2 separate regions of the Homo sapiens genome follow, and region 1 is linked to region 2. Evidence: promoter capture Hi-C in human tissues and cell types (Jung and others, 2019). All regions are on one chromosome and are shown on one strand. The core of a region is centred on a gene start or on the middle of the fragment in contact, and the rest is flanking DNA. Distances in the headings are between cores, read along the strand shown. Region 1 overlaps SLC25A21 (solute carrier family 25 member 21). Region 2 holds the start of NKX2-8 (NK2 homeobox 8).

Region 1 (4,213 bases), core at 312-2,811, 360 kb after region 2:
GTTTTCAAACTAAAATATTATGTGCAGAGGTATAGTTATTTTTCCTTCATGGCACTTTTTAGTAGGAGGGTAAATTTAGATTTGAGCCCCTCCCCTAGTCCACCCCCATCTTTTGGGACTGGGGAAGGTATGGTTCCAGTAGAGAGCTGCTTCTGCCTTAGAAGGCAATGAGTCAGAAACGCAAATCTGAGCAAAGGCGGAATTACTACTACATGCCAGAGAGAGTCACACATCAGTCAAGTCCACCAAGTGAACTCTATAGTCTTCCCAATTGTGAGACTCTATGATTTGCTGAAGAAAGAATTCTATTATATTTTCCTACATAGGGAGATAGATTTTAGTCACTGTCCCTGTGTTTAAGACTGAGTCTCACTCTGTCACCCAGGCTGAAGTGCAGTGGTGCAATCTCAACTCACTGCAGCTCTCTGCCTCCCGGGTTCAAGTGATTCTCCTGCCTCAGCCTCCCGACTAGCTAGAATTACAGGCACGCTCCACCACACCCGGCTAATTTTTGTATTTTTAGTAAAGACACCCTTTCACCATGTTGGCCAGGCTGGTCTTGAGCTCCTGGCCTCATGTGATCTGCCCGCCTTGGCCTCCCAAAAGTGCTGGGATTACAGGCATAAGTCACCGCACCTGGCCCTAGGCTTGTTTTGTATCATGTCTTAGACATGTAGGGGTTTATTTCAGAGCACACAAATGAACTATTCTAAGTATTCACACTATTGGAGGGCTGCTTCTGTCCCTCTGAGTCCCTGCCCTGCTGCTATATGTAAGACCAAGATGAACTGCCCCTGGTAAATCGGTCCTTGTGAAAGTCTGGGGAAATGCCAGGTAACCCAGTGACAGTTCCACTTGGCTCTTTGTAGCTTACACAGTACCAAACCTGAGAGAGCACTGCAAAGTCAGGTCAGGAAGGTTTCGCCAAGGCTTGGAAATAAGAACAGGGTATGAGTCTTATACCACCTAACTGGGCCTTCCAGTTAGCAAGAAGCCTTTGTTTAAAAAGCTGGCTAAGAAACCTCCTAGTAACATATTTCCCTGTAACAAGTTTAATTAATTAATTGAAAAAATACATAGTAAAAGATGTTTATATTAAATATAAAATTATCACCACTAAATTTATTAGAGGAGATAAAAGGCAACAGATTGGGCCTAATTCACTCCAAGAAAAGGATACCCAATTCCCTCTGAAATCCCAAATTCATACATATAAAAATTCTGCTCTAATCCTTCTCCATTTACATCACAGAGCCATGCTCCCGTGTTGGCCTCTGTACTGAAGAGTGACCAGAGGTAAATGCAGGTGCCTCTGGCCAGTTGTCAAGGTCATATCCTGAATCCTGTCGACACCTGGGACCCTAGCCCAGCATACTGTCGGGCAAGGACAAACCCATAGCCTGCCATTAATAGGGGAGGAAAGACATGTGGACAAGTAGCAGACAAAAGTGATTGTCCCAGTGGGCTTTGAGAAATTGTTATGGGAGTCCAGAGGAAGAAAACTGCCTTCAGCTTGCGGTAGGAGTTGGCAGGTTGCGGGTGGAGGGCATAGGGTATCAAGGAAGGCTTTCTGAAGGAGGCAGCTGGGCCTTGAGAGATGACTAACACTTAGTAAACCATGCTGGGGGAGGAAACATCACAGATAGTGAGAGGATCTCCTCTCTCCCTCATCCACACAGGCTGTGGAGAGCGACATCTGTTCCACAGTCTTCTCCCTGAAGGGTGGGGCTCCAAGGGCCGGCTCCAGTGTAAGCATAAACAAGTGACTACGAATGTCCTATTCAATACACAAGAAAACTCATGAACATTTGTAAAGCATTTCTAAGCCACAGAATTCATATGTGCCTCCTTAACAAAGATAAATTTCACATTTTTCCCTTTCTCACAGTTTGTCCCATCTTCTCTCATTTTATTGAGTAGAATGAGCCTTACCTCAAAAGCCAAACAAACACTGACCCAAGATGAGATGCCCTAAAGCTAGGTCCACTGCCTGAAGCTGACTCATCCCATCACAGTTTATTTTTGTTGTGTGAATCAATTCTAATTTTCAAACTGAAATATATGATGGTTTATCATCATTTTGACCTTTTCATAACACTGCTGGTACAGTTGCTGAGAACATGCCAAATCATGTTGATTTCTTCCTTTTTCTAGGAGTGTTCATCCTAGTCAGTCTTCTCAGGACAACCAAAAGCCAAAACCGAAACAAACCAAAAACCTCTTTCCCCTGACTCAGATTATTATTATTTTTAGTTCTTCAGGACTACCTGTGAGGATAAGAAGAAGTGGTTACCCAGTCCATCAGCAAAATGTCCCCATAATCCTTTCAAACTACTGAGAAATAAGGTATGTTATCTTCACTTAATGAAGAAACTGAGACATAAAAGTAAAGAATATTGCTACAAATGGAGGCAGAAATACAAGTTGATACCATGTGCCCAAGTGAGACATCTCATTTTTAGCCTGTGTAAGACAAATTTTAACCATATAATCCAGAAAATCCACTTCTGGGCATATACCCCAAAGAACTGAAAGCAGAGACTTGAAGAGATATTTGTACCCCCACATTCACAGCAGCGCTATTCATGAGAGGCAAGAGGTAGAAGCAACCCGTGTTCATCGACAGATGAATGGAAAAACAAAATAAAGTATATCCATACAAATGGAATATTATTTAGCCTTAAAAAGGAAGGACATTCTGACACATGCTAACATGAATAAACGTTGAGGACATTATGCTACATGAAATAAGCCAGTCCTAAAAGGACAGATACTGTGCAATTCCACTTATATATGGTATATACCTAGAATAATCAAATTCATAGAAACAGAAAATAGAATGTTGGCATCAGGGGCTGGGGGAGAAGATAATGGGGAGCTAGTGCTTAATGGGTACAGAACTTCAATTTTGCAACAGGAAAAGAGTTCTGGAGATGAATGGTGGAGATGGCTGTGCAATAATGTGAATGTACTTAATGCCACTGAACTATACACTTAAAAATGGTTAAGATGGTAAATTTTATGTTATGTGTATTTTGCCACAATAAAAAACTAACTTTATTTAATGAAGAAAAAAGGTGAAAAAATTTCACCATTCAAAGTCCAAAATAAGAATTTGAATATATAAACATAAGCAAGCTAGCAACATAACCTCTAGCCCTATGATGTACCTATTATGTGAATGCTTCCGTTAGCACAAGAAAAAAGGATCAGATAAATTAGTGAATACCTCAAGGATGTAAGTAGAAACATTTTAGATTTATAGCAAGAAGCAAGTAGAATGGTGTTATCAACTGCTTATAAATATTAAACACATAGGAGACAAGTTTGCAAATGCAAACTTACTTCTTGTCATACTGTACCAGTGTAGTACAAATTATATCATTAAAATACAATGTTAAAAGCTTTAAAGCGTCAAGGATCTCACAATCCATAGGTATGTTCAAGAATTAAGTCCTCTTGTTTCTAAATAATGTCTGTATTTAGTATCCAGTAGCCATCATTTGTACAGGAGAAAGAAAGTGAGGGTAGTTAGTTTAAATGTAATTAATTAAGTTTACCATGAGTAAACTTATATTTGATTGACTATTAATACCAATAAATAAATGATTCCATACGTAAATAATAGCAATAGTAATTCCAATGAAAGTTTAGTGTTTGTGTCCTTAAATCTTTCAATGGCATTAACATGTGCCCTTAAACTTCTATTTTGCCTGCCTGGTATAAATAGAATTAAGAAAAATATCTTAATGTTAAATACCAGGTAGGTGAAACTTTTCTTCCCTAAATAATTTCTTCAGGTGTGTTGTCACATTTCTCAGCTGACCAATTAATTAAAATCTAGGTAACAGTTGGTTTTGCTCAACGAATGTCCAGCCTAGCAGTTCAGTGAATGATGGCCACCCCATAATCTCAATAATTCCTCCAGGATGTCAGCTTGTCATGGCCTGACCATGAAACATAACTTGACAAATAAAGGAAGTGAGTTACTATACAAACCAACCTGTGCTCAGACCATGTTTTAATATTTTATATGTGTTTATCTGGCATAATATTATAGTATTTTTTCAGTCTGTCTTGTAGCAGTTCATTCTGGACACTATTTATCTTTAGTAATAATTGCTTTTAATGCCAAGAAATTACTTTATTCTATATCCTCCAGCTCTCCTAGACCCACCTCATGTGTTCAGCAAAAGTTTCTAAGTCATCAACT
Region 2 (3,752 bases), core at 488-2,987:
TAGCCCCAGGTGCCGCCCTGCGGCCTCACCAGTTCCAGGAGACCAGGGCGGGGGATGCTAAGTGCTGGTAGGCGGGGAAGAGGCCAAGCGCCGAGCCGGGACCGAAGGCAGGGTAGCCCGGCAGAGGGCAGGCGGCGGCTGGAGGGGCGCCGCACTTCTCCTGGGCCGCGGCGGTTCCCACCTCGCCACCGCCGCCGCCGCCGCACGGCTGCCCGTCGCGAACAAGCACCGGCACCACCACGCGACGCAGCAGGCCGGGCGCGGCGTGCAGCTCGGCGGATGCTGCCAGGTCAGGCGACTCCGCCGCCCCTGGAGCGCGAGCGCGCTTCAGCTTGTAGCGATGATTCTGGAACCAGATCTTGACCTGCGTGGGCGTGAGGCGAAGCAGGCTCGCCAGCTGCTCGCGCTCGGGCGCAGACAGGTACCGCTGCTGCCGGAAGCGCCGCTCCAACTCCAGCGTCTGCGCCTTGGAGAATAGCACCCGCCGCTTCTTCCTTTTCTCGGCGTCCGAGCCCGGAGACGCGGGCCTAGCGGACGGCCGCTGCGACGAGTCTGGCGGGCTGGTCTCCAGGCTGCTCTCGTCCGAGGCTAGGGACAGCAAAGGAGACACGGGTGGGTGAGACGCCGGACCCTACGAGGGCCTGCTGCCCTTCTGGCGCGGGCGTGGAGGCACTGGCCAGAGGGCACGCCCACTAGCCCGAGACTTTCGGGATGAGGCCATTTCCTGAGTCCACATCTGGACATCCACCTCTCCGAATGCGGTGACCTCATTCATACCACAGCGGTCATCAGCGGGCCTGAGATCGTGCCCCGAAAAAACCCACCCCGGGGCCCTCTTAACATGTCCGCACCGGTAGTTGCGCTGGCCGACCAGTTTATCACAAGCTGGGTCACCAGCGCCGGCCTCCTCCAGGTCGACTGCACTGCAGTGTGCCGAGGTTTGCGGAGCCCTGAGTGGGAACGGGGTGGGGGTAAACTCGCCAACACTGGCCATCCCAGACGGAGGCCTGGAGATCGTGGCCGTGTTTTCAGGCATGGAGAGGGGGCGGGGGGTGGGGTGGGGGCGGCAGGTGGCGGCGCGTTTTAAATTTCAATTATTCCGACCTCTAGAAATCGTCAGACACAGAAACCCCAAATCTCGGAGCACCAGTGCCAGGCAGGGATCTGCTCTTAGGATGTGCCGACCGGGATGAATGCGTTAGGGGTTCGAGGACAGGGCTCCCGTTTCCAAGACTGAGGAAATCTAGACTCTGGGCTGGGATTTCGGCTTTCCGGCCCCTCGTGGGCTGGGCCCTTGATTCTGCTGCCCCACGCCTCCTACCTCCCACCCCGCACCGCAATCCACCACGCACTTACAAGGGTAGTGGCCGCGCTCCGAATCCAGCCAGGCGGCGCAGGGGTCGGGCTGGGGGGCGCGTGGTTCTGGCTCCCGCCTCGGCAGGTGTTGCGCGTCCTGCTCGGGTAAATCTAGAAGGCTGCGCACGGTGAAGCTCAGGCGTCCAGAGGTGGCCATGGCCGAGGAGGGGAAGGAGGCGGGGGCAGGGCAGGCTGGGAACGGAGGGGCGGCCGGGACGCCGCTCCTACGGATGGGCGTGGGAGGCGCTCGCCATGCGCTGGCAGCCGGGATATTAGCGCATTTACAGCGGAATCTCTGTTTATATAAACAGCTCTTCCCACCCAGGCCGCTTTGAAAGCCGAGGTCCGGGTCTCCAGGGTGTTAAGTACCTGAATGAGCACTGGACCAGAGCCGGGGCGAGCCCGGAAGGTGCCACCTCCGCCCCCGCCCCGCCCCGCACCCCGCCCCGCACCCCGCCCCTTGGCGCCCAGTTACCTCCCAGAGGCTGCAGGAAGCAGCATTTGGCATTAGCGATTCTGTCTGATTAGCCCAAAGTGGGGACAGATAATGGGGATTGTTACCAGTGAATAACATCTTGGGTGGCGAGCGGTGGCCACCACCCGCCTGACCCAGCCCCAGCTTCCTCCTCCTCCTCCTGGGCTGACTTGAGGCCAGGCCCCGCGGGAGCGCCGGGAAGGGTGGGGGTGGCAGGGGTGGGTTTATTAGCACCCAGGAATTTATTCCCTGTTTGCTTTATTCTTCGAGCTTGTTTGCTGGAGTGGTAGTTTCCCGCAATTATCCAGAAAGTGATTTACAAAGCGGCGTTAAACTCTGGCGCGCTCCCTTTCTCTTTTTGGTTGGGCCCCTCTAAGATTCAGGATGACAAGTTTCAGGAGGGCGTAAAGATTAGCCTGGCCCTGCCAGCATTGGCCCAGGGGTTTCAACGGCCGCTGGGAGCCTCGGATCACACCATACATCCCCCTAACAGCCTCAGAGGTGCTGAGGAAGGGCTGGGACAACATTCGGAGCCCCAGCTCCACGTCTCCACAGGCCGGCAAAACAGAAGAGGCTTGTAGCCAAGCTACTTAGGTCTACAGTGCCTGTCTCTTTGGCCCAGCTTCGCCCGGCCGCTGCCGATCTCGGAGCTCGGAGGCCGAGCTCCACAAATTTGGGTCCAGGCCCGCTTTAGAGCCCCTGGGCGGGGGCGCTTCTCAGGGCATCCTGTGAGGGCTTTGAGGCCTCCTTGGAGTCGCCAGATGAACTGGTGCCGCCTGTGCGCCTTGGCCCCATAGCCTCAACGGCACTCTCACTGCCTGGGCTTTGGTCTTTGCCCAGGAGCCTGCCCATGGCCTACGCTCCCCGCTCGCAGCATGGCAGACCCTGACGAGGCTGCCCGCCTTGGTCCGGGAATGGACCGATCGGGAGAATTAGGACAGGGCCTACCCGGCAGAAAATACCACCGGCCATGGGTTTCTCTGGGATCTTCTAGTTTCCACAGTTCCACCCTAGAAAATGATCAATGTAGGAGGCGCAGGGAACAGGCCGCCGTGGATACATTTTGTTGGGCCATGGCCTAGCTCTGGCCGCGCTTCAATCTACAGAGGAACGCCCTCTCAGAGGCCTCTCCTACTGAAGCTAGTAGTTTGGATATTTAGTTGCTAAATTGTAGCGAAGGGCTCTGTACTTGGGTGGCTGCACCAGAAGTCCTGGCTCCTCCCGGGCTGAACTCGAACCTGGCTCGGATGCGGCGGCGGCGGCCCTGTCAAGCCCCGCGCACCCTCCCCAGCAGCCTCCCTATCAAGCGTGCCCGAGGTGCCCGGAGCTGCACCGCGCGCTGGGTGGTCGGGCGGAGGCAACCCCAATACAGGCCAACTGCTAGGCCGCGGACAAAGGGGAAATGGAGCTCGACGCCCCGGACCTGTTGGAAGCATTTGTTCCAGTCAAGATTTTGCATTTGTTCAGTCCGGAATAATGCATGATTGACGTCTGCTCACAATGCGCTTTAACGCGCCGGGATAAATCGGAGCTTGTCCGGTGTTGTCATGGTTTTCAATGGGGTTCAATGGGATTGGGAGCACGATCGACTCTGCTGGCCGTCTTTCCGCGGCCCTGGCAATAGATTTATTAGTTATGTCTTTTTAAATAAGATTAAACTGAAATGACTTGGCTGTCCTCTCTGCAGACGGGGCCGGGGCGGGAGCCTGGAGTGGGCAGGGGACAGCGGAGTCTGGAAACCCGCCGCGCACCGCTCCTCAGCTCCCGAGCCCCCAGCGTCTAGAGAGTGGGCAGGTCGCAGACTGGCTCCAGGCCTCGTGGACTTATCTCTGGCCAGAGCCCGAGGCCTGGCAATCTCTGCCAGCCCACCTCCCTAGTGAGAAGCTGAGGCACTGACAAAGACCGTCCTGGGGAAGCAAGT

Evidence for each region. The method cuts DNA at HindIII sites, captures the fragments that hold promoters and counts their contacts. A contact is called where the count stands out against the background at its distance.
Region 1: a fragment that was not itself captured here is called in contact with the fragment with the promoter of NKX2-8 in region 2 in 4 of the 25 tissues and cell types used here (hippocampus, lymphoblastoid cells, mesenchymal stem cells and 1 more).

What each region holds. Positions count from the first base shown.
Region 1 is chr14:36,942,851-36,947,063 of GRCh38, forward strand. The region is part of intron 1 of SLC25A21 (solute carrier family 25 member 21); the gene reads right to left. Among named protein-coding and RNA genes, the nearest start is that of MIR4503, 7.4 kb to the right of the region's middle. The HindIII fragment of the contact is 5,369 bases long and covers 1-4,213 here.
Region 2 is chr14:36,580,877-36,584,628 of GRCh38, forward strand. It overlaps NKX2-8 (NK2 homeobox 8), which reads right to left and starts at 1,738. Exons shown (of 2, transcript NM_014360.4): 1 at 1,357-1,738; 2 at 1-588. The coding sequence starts at 1,513. The coding sequence ends at 26. RefSeq lists enhancers at 1-318, 319-1,129. The HindIII fragment of the contact is 13,278 bases long and covers 1-3,752 here.